2 separate regions of the Homo sapiens genome follow, and region 1 is linked to region 2. The links are contacts of gene promoters, found by promoter capture Hi-C in blood cells and fetal thymus (Javierre and others, 2016). All regions are on one chromosome and are shown on one strand. Each heading gives the region's core, a stretch centred on a gene start or on the middle of the fragment in contact. The rest is flanking DNA. Distances are from core to core; before and after follow the strand shown. Region 1 overlaps HEMK1 (HemK methyltransferase 1, mitochondrial release factors N(5)-glutamine). Region 2 holds the start of NPRL2 (NPR2 like, GATOR1 complex subunit).

The links. The method cuts DNA at HindIII sites, captures the fragments that hold promoters and counts their contacts. A CHiCAGO score of 5 or more calls a contact.
Region 1: a fragment that was not itself captured here is called in contact with the fragment with the promoter of NPRL2 in region 2 in 2 of 17 cell types (erythroblasts and megakaryocytes); the score reaches 5.8 in erythroblasts.

The regions. Positions count from the first base shown.
Region 1 is chr3:50,580,077-50,584,145 of GRCh38, reverse strand. It overlaps HEMK1 (HemK methyltransferase 1, mitochondrial release factors N(5)-glutamine), which reads right to left. Exons shown (of 11, transcript NM_016173.5): 10 at 3,917-4,030; 11 at 1-3,765. The coding sequence ends at 3,729. Among named protein-coding and RNA genes, the nearest start is that of HEMK1, 13 kb to the right of the region's middle. RefSeq lists enhancers at 1,353-1,852, 1,853-2,354. The HindIII fragment of the contact is 8,059 bases long and covers 1-4,069 here.
Region 2 is chr3:50,348,967-50,352,767 of GRCh38, reverse strand. NPRL2 (NPR2 like, GATOR1 complex subunit) reads left to right here and starts at 1,993. Exons shown (of 11, transcript NM_006545.5): 1 at 1,993-2,193; 2 at 2,746-2,837; 3 at 2,935-3,103; 4 at 3,274-3,382; 5 at 3,758-3,801. The coding sequence starts at 2,116. CYB561D2 (cytochrome b561 family member D2) reads right to left here and starts at 1,906. Exons shown (of 4, transcript NM_001291284.2): 1 at 1,784-1,906; 2 at 1,208-1,359; 3 at 722-759. The coding sequence starts at 1,334. It overlaps LOC127898564 (CYB561D2-LOC101928965), which reads right to left and starts at 1,906. Exons shown (of 5, transcript NR_183066.1): 1 at 1,784-1,906; 2 at 1,208-1,359. RefSeq lists an enhancer at 1,732-1,951. The HindIII fragment of the contact is 2,178 bases long and covers 1-2,003 here.

The DNA of each region.
Region 1 (4,069 bases), core at 689-3,188, 230 kb before region 2:
TGTGGCTGTTGCGCAGGGATCAGGTGCACTTGAGTCTTCGAAGTGGCCATTGCTCAACTTGAATGGCTGCCTGGGTCGGGCAGAAGGCCAGGTCCTCATGGCTTCCCATCCCTAATGACCGGAATACATGGGCTGCCAGGTCAGATGTGGGCCACATGGGAAGTCCCAGCTCTATTCTAGAAAATGCATGTACCATCAGCTTACTGATAGACATTTACTGAACTTGGGTATGCCAGATCCACAGGGGGCCCCAGAGATGAGGGGGATAAGAAGGTTTCTGAAGGCATGGTACAGAAGGTGCCAGCAGAGGTATGGGCTAGGGGAGGCAGGGAGAGCACAGAGCAGGCATCCTAAAGGAGGCAGCATTTGTGTTGGAGCTTGAAGAAGTGGATTGTTTGCACCGCCTGGGCAAAGGGAAGGTGTGTGTTCAGGGCATCGAGAGTACTGCACAAAGGCTGAAGCCCAGGGCAGTAGAGAAGAGAATCCACTAAGAAGGAGCCAATGAAGAAAAAAAAGAGAAAAGAATCGAAGGTGGATAGGGAAAGACATGCTGTCCCGCAGAGGTTAAAGGGGTTCTCACCTCAAGCCAGCAGTTCTCAAACCTTGTCAGCAGTGGAGCCCTTTGTTCTGATGACAGCCTACTCAGAGCACTGATGGGGCCTTGGGAGGGGCCCCCAGGGCTTTTCCCACAGTTGTCCTCCCCCACCTCTTCAGAACTGGATTCCATAGGACACAAGAGAACACACTTAAGTCATGGGGAGCCAGCTAAGTGTTTGGGGCAAGGATTGGGAGCAGCCAATAGCCCAGGGTCCAGGTGGGGGTAAAGGAGCAAAAAAGAGTATTTTTTGCATTTAGGGGGTTCGGGGCCTATTTCAATAAGGCAGCTGTATGAGACCCATGGAGAAACCCACTGACAACTGGGAAAAGCATCCAACTGTGAGACAAGGCCTCAGTTTCCCCAACTATCAGAAGAGGAGATAGAATTACTCTCCCAGAGTACATCAAACAGGGACTCCTACACTCCTGTCTATGCTCTGGGCTCTGGCTGAAGGAGGCTGCACGGGCAGTGGGCACATCTCTCAAGACCTCAGGGGCTTGCACAGCCTGGACTCCATCAGCTCCATGTCCTCCTCCCATTCTGCCTGCAAGTGCTCCTTGACATATGCTGGTGGTGGTGGGGAGGCTGTTCGAGTCTCTGGCTTTGGCCTCAGGAGCAAGGGAGGGGATAGGGCAGGTGGGCCTGGCTTTCCCTGAGCTAGAGCCACTGGCTGCCCTGGCCTGGGCCTCAAGGCACTGGGGCCATAGTGAGGAGAGGCTGAGGGGAGATGTAGGCTGCCAGGCTACCAGCCTGCTGGCTCCATCTCTAGACAACAGTGAGGAGTCAAGAGCCCAAGACTGAAACTCCTGCCTTCCCTTCTTTCCAGACTGCCTTGTATCCCTGCCTGCCTTATGTTGGTCCCATGCATCAGATGGACGCCTGAGGGCACTGGGTCCTTCCTCCCTGTGTCTGCCCTCCGAGGAAGGCAAGGAAAAATGCCACAATGTGCCAAGCCAGGCACATCCCATGGGCTCCTCACATGCATCCTATAAAATAAAGCATTAAGTCCCATTTCTCAGCCTTAGAAGCCAAGGCTGAGTGAGGTGAAGTCATCTGCCCAAGGTCACATCCTCGTGAGGGGCAGATTCTGGGATTGAAATCCAGGCTGGTGTGGCTCCAACATCTGGGCTCAACGTCCAGGGCCCAATCAAGCCAGTGGCTGCAGGCTTGAGGCCCCGCCTGCCAGTCCTCTTGGCTTGGACCTTTTCCTCAGCAGAGTCAAGCTGCACATTTTTCTGGGCAGAAAGTTGTGCCCGAGGCCGGCTCCTGCTTGTGGCCCCAGCTGCCCCGACAGTGTCACTCTCCAACACTGCACTCTCTTCTGGTGCAACATCCACAAGCTCGCCAAGGCCCTTCCTCAGGAATGGGCCTGAGGCCAGGAGGGAGAGACCATCAGGGAAGCCAGGACTGGCTGAGGTGTAGGGGGGCGACAGACTGCTCCGAGGTCAGGGCAGCTACCCTGAGATGCTGCTGAAGACAGCAAGAGCCAAAGGGCACAAGGAGAAAGACAGAAAGGGCAATACTGGTGAGGACCTTAGCAGGCAAAGGTCTGTGAGCATGGGGGACTAAGGAAGTGGGGAGCCTTGCCCTGGTTGTGCACCCCCTTCGCCCTCCCCACCCAGGTTCCTTCTGGAGCAGCCTCCTTAAAGGAAGCCAGGGGCAGCTCAGAGTCCATGCAGCTGGGGCTGGGCACAGGGCAGGACACTGGGGCACTGGGAGCTGCAGTGTGACCTCTACCAAATGTGTCCTCCAGCCATAGTGCAGGGCAACACTTAGGCTGGGTATGACTCCAGCAATATAGGCTCCCCAAAGGGAGGGATCTAACTTACTGTCTCCACTTGGTCACTGTCATGTGACCTCAGGCAGTACATACCTTCTCTTGCTCTCCATGCCTGGCGAATGGACATTCAGATGCCAGCATGCACATTCCACTTGACTAAGAGTAAAGAGGTTGCCAGTTGGCGTTGGCCCTGGACTCAGAAGAGCCAGCTTCTCATAGGGAAAGGAGTTGCCCAAGGTCCCACTGCAGGACACAGCCCTGGAACTCAGCTCTCCCAGCTGCAGCAGAGGATGCTGCCTATTGGACCATACTGCCCATCAGACCATACTGCCAGGCCCTGGGAAGTGCCAGGGTGGCAGGGGGCAGTCTAGTGGAATGAGACAGCCTGGTTTGCCATGTTTCTTAGGACCCACCCTGATGTAGGCTCACATCACCAGCACTCACCAACCTAGAGATTTCCTGTCGCTGTTGACAGGAAGGCTGGATCTGCAGGCCTCCTGGTGGCCATGAGTCTGCACAGACCAGAGCTGGGGTGGAGGCCACAACCCTGTGCCCAGTATCTCAGCTTCTCACTCTCCCCAGCCCCAACCAGGGACACATGGGTTATTTGAAACCCCAGGGGGTCAACTCGGGAGGGATGTTTTAGCTAAAAGCTATGGGGATAAAAAGGAAACACCCCTCACTGGCTCAAGCCTTCAGTTAAATGAACGTGGATGTGCGACCCAGGAACTGTGCAGCAAAGACCTCCAGACCCTCCCCTCCAGAAAGCAGGCAGTCATCCTTGAGCCAAAACGCAGATGAGCTTCCTGTGCTCGAGCCAGGCTTGGCCAGGGAATTGTGTACGCATGCACCCAGGGCAGTGGAGGACTAATCAATCCCTGGGAGTGAGCTGCTCTATGCCAGGACCCATGGTATCCAAGGCCAGGAGTGAGGACTCACGTGCCTTCCTCCACACTGCACCCCCACACCACTACCAAGCAGGGGACTGACGGCCAGCCCTGCTGGGGCAGAAGGAAACCCTTGCCCCAGTGCTACCTGGGAGTAAGGGGGTCAGGGGACCTGCAAGTCATGGACAAAACATTAGGTCACCATTTGTTAGTCTCTCAATACTTTACTGGCCATATCCCCCGATACCCCCACAGCAATTTCACCAACACAGAGCAACTGCCCTCAGCCACTCTGATGTGATGGAGCCAATCCAGGTGTCCTAGAAATATCCTAGAAATGCAGAGCATGGGGAAATCACAGAACCCTGGGAAATGCCATAAGAACCTGGGCTCTGGAAAGTGCCATCCACCTCCCCTCTGGTCAGGCTGGCGGCACTGACAAGGCATCCACAGGGCAGCCATGCTATGGCCCAGACCTCCGGATATGCAGGAACCGGGGCCTGAGGAGACAGGGACAGGGGCTGGTTACCACCTGGGCCTCAGGGAATGAACAGGAAGTGGGAACAGCACACTCTCCTGACAGCCAGGGCTGAGGATGGCCCCAGTGGAAAGACCAGCATGCTACAGGGCTAAAGGGGGCTAGGATCTTACCTCCCACAGAAGTCCCTGCGCACAGCCACAAGATTAAGGTACAGGTCAGGCCGGCTCTGAAGCCAGCTGCTGACAAGCTCCGGGTGCCTTGGGTCCACTTCTAAGAAGATACTACTACATGGGGGAGAAATGGGTGGGCTCAGCAGGACAGGT
Region 2 (3,801 bases), core at 744-3,243:
TAGACAAATCTTACCCATTTGACCTGGGTCCTGGGTCTTCATTACTCTGATTCAAGTCTCTTTTTTTTTTTTTTTTTTTTTTTGGAGATAGTCTCTCTCTGTCACCCAGGCTGGAGTGCAGTGGCCTGATCTCGGCTCACTGCAATCTCCGCCTTCCGGGTTCAAGCAATTCTCCTGCCTCAGGCTCCTGAGTAACTGGGATTACAGGCACCTGCCACCACACCCAGCTAATTTTTGGTTTTTTGGGGGGTTTTTTTGTTTTTGGGTTTTTTTTTTTTTTTGGGACAGAGCCTCGCTCTGTCGCCTAGGTTAGAGGTTAGAGTGCAGTGGCGCAATCTTGGCTCACTGCAACCTCCGTCTCCTGGGTTCATGCGATTCTCCTGCCTCAGCCTCCCGAGTAGCTGGGACTACAGGCGCGTGCCACCATGCCCGGCTAATTTTTTGTATTTTTAGTAGAGACGGGGTTTCACCATGTTGGCCAAGATGGTCTCGATCTCCTGACCTCAGGTGATGTGCCCGCCTCGGCCTCTAAGTGCTGGGATTACAGGCATGAGCCACCGTGCCCAGCCTCAAGTCTGAAATATATACCATGGGCAGGAGTAGTTGGAGCATGCAACTCTTCCAAACAGATATTAAATGTGGACAAAGATTCAGAGGCTGCCAGGGCCACCAACCATGCCCATGCTCCCACCCCTAAGAACTGCCCAGGCCCACTACTTACAGCCAAAGACATAAGCACCGGGTGCCAGGAGAACAGGCCTGGAATGAGAAGAGGAGGCCTCATGGGGCTGAGGCAAGAAGAAACCAGCCATACCAATCCTTAAGGGTTGAGGAATACCAGCAGCCCATCACCCAAGGAGGTGCTGCCAAACTGTGAGCCCCTTCTTGCTCTGCAACAAGCTGACCCCACACCTATCCTCTCTTCCTGGCCTCTTCCTGGATCAGAGGCCATGCTTTGCCACTCCTCTGGCAGTCCTCCCTCCTTCCCTTACACCTCCTGAGAGGCAGCCAAATGGAGCACCCAGAGAAGGAAAGACAAACCAGGAATTCTGTGTGCCCTGGCCATACCTACCTGCTCCACCTCACTCATCGCTCCAGCACAGAATTCCCTCAACCAGCCAGGCCTGTTCCCGGAAGTCCCACTGCCCTTCCTCCCCAGGAACAGTGGCCCTTCCCTTCCCAGAAGTCAGCTATGAATTCTACTTACTGGAGCCAGGCCTGGCAAGCACAGCCACAAAGATGGTAAAGCCCAGGGCCACAAGGTGGGCGGCAGCGCCAGAAGCAGTACGCAGAGCTCGGTAGATGTGTGACTCGGTCTCCGCAGAAAGGGCCATCGTCAGCCGTGCTAGTGGTTGTAGCCTGAAAGCATAGTAGCGTGGGCCAGGATCTCAGGTGCCCACTGTTCACTCCTCACTGGAGAAAAGGCTGCAAGGCAGGAATGCCACCCTCTTCCAATAAGTTATGGTAGGAAAGAACAGTACCAAGACCAGCACCAGGAATGGTCACAACATGCCAGTCGACGGCCGGCGGCCTGTCAACGTGTACCCATGTCTGAACTGGTACCAATCGCTGGCCCGCCTTCCAGGTAGGAGGCGCAAAGCCATGTAAGACTACAAATCCCAGCGTGTACCACGCCGTCGCCGGCAGTAGAGCCAGCTGGGAGGGCGCGGAGCACTATGGAAATTGTAGTTCCCTGCTGCGGTCCCAGTTACAGCGTGAATCCCTTAGCGCACCGCCTCCCCAAGTGCTGCCAGCATGCTGCCCCTCCACGCTAGGGACTTGCCTGCCTCTGCCGCAGCGCAGATCTGATGCGGTGGTTTCCTCCAAAGAAAGCGGGATACTCCGGGCCCTGCCGCGCGCACCGCCGCTCCGTCACGGAGCCGCTTTACTTCCGGGTGCGACGTCTACCCACCCAGGACTTCCTGGGACGAGCCGTCCCCCGCCCCAGCCACGCCTCTGAGTCGCGCTGCGCAGGCGCCATTGGGCAGAGGGATTGGCAAGCTTGCGTGCCCCAGCGACACAGGCCTCGAGGCTGTCTCTGACAAGTGTTCACAGGAGGTGGGGACGCCTCTGCGCGAGGAACGAGGAGCTACGGGCCTGGGCCCGGTTATTGCCATGGGCAGCGGCTGCCGCATCGAATGCATATTCTTCAGCGAGTTCCACCCCACGCTGGGACCCAAGATCACCTATCAGGTGCCACCCGGGCTCGCGGGACTGGGCGGGAAGAGGGACGTTCTCGAGAGCTCAACTGGCTGCCTGAAGGCAGTAGTTTCCCGTGCTGCACGCAGGCATGCTGCTTCATTCGCAGACAACTGTGAGGCTAGAGGATAGTCAGACCCAGGCCCCCGGCTCCCAATGTGGCAGGGAAGACATACGTCACATTGGCAGTGTTTGTAGGATATCGGGCTGTAGGGATCCGGTTGGGGGGTTCCAGGTCCCACAGAAGGTGAGTTGGGTGACCCATGAGTATCCCTGAACTGAGTGAAGAGTAAATGATGCATAGGAAGTTTAGGTAAGGCAGGAGAAAGTGTTCCAGGTAGAGGGAACAGCATATGCAGAAGCCAGGAAGGAGGTGAGATCATAGCGTATGTTTGGAAACAGAAAGAAGTAATAGGCCTGAGTGGATGGGAGAGAGGGGAACGCTGGAGAAGAGGACTTGGGCTTGGGGGGCATGAGGAGGTCACCATTTGTACTACACCCAGTACAGATGTCCACTGAGGGGCCCATTGCCACTCCCCTCCCCAGGTCCCTGAAGACTTCATCTCCCGAGAGCTGTTTGACACAGTCCAAGTGTACATCATCACCAAGCCAGAGCTGCAGAACAAGCTTATCACTGTGTGAGACCCTAGCTCGGGGTGAGCGGTGGGTGGCAGGGGTTGTCCCAGGAGGAGGAAGGGACAGGCTTGGGGGCCTGACTGTGTTCCAATTATCCAGCACAGCTATGGAAAAGAAGCTGATCGGCTGTCCTGTGTGCATCGAACACAAGAAGTACAGCCGCAATGCTCTCCTCTTCAACCTGGGCTTCGTGTGTGATGCCCAGGCCAAGACCTGCGCCCTCGAGCCCATTGTTAAAAAGCTGGCTGGCTATCTGACCACACTAGAGGTCTGCAATGAGATGGGCTTGGGTTTACCGACAGGCAGAGTTGGGGAAGGTGTTCCCATGTCTCCAAAGTCCCCCAAACCTGGGACCCTGCAAACCAGCTCAGGACTCAGGGCAGCCAACCAGCCAGGGGTCCTGGGATGTGCCCACCATGCTTTCCATGCTCTGTCTAGCTAGAGAGCAGCTTCGTGTCCATGGAGGAGAGCAAGCAGAAGTTGGTGCCCATCATGACCATCTTGCTGGAGGAGCTAAATGCCTCAGGCCGGTGCACTCTGCCCATTGGTATGGCCAGCCTCTGCAAGGACAGCAGAGGGGTAGAGGAGAGATGGGAAAGTGAACCCAGCTAGTCAGGGAGAAGGGCAAGACTCATGAACACATTGGTGGGCAGGAAATAGCCATGGGCTGAGGTGCCCATGTCCAGGGTCCAATGCATGATGGAGCTGGGACTGGGGGTAGGGGGAAAGCAGAGCTCTCCAGCTCTGCCCCTTGGGCAATTCCTTCCCCTTTGTGGGCCTCCGTTTCTCACTCCATAAAAAGAGAAAGATTAGCCCTACCCAGAGGCACCTGCTTGCCCCAAGGGATGCTGGGAGGCCTGGATGGTAATTGAGGACCTCTTGGAAGAAGTGGCACTGAGGATATGGATGGGGCCCCCTGCAGATGAGTCCAACACCATCCACTTGAAGGTGATTGAGCAGCGGCCA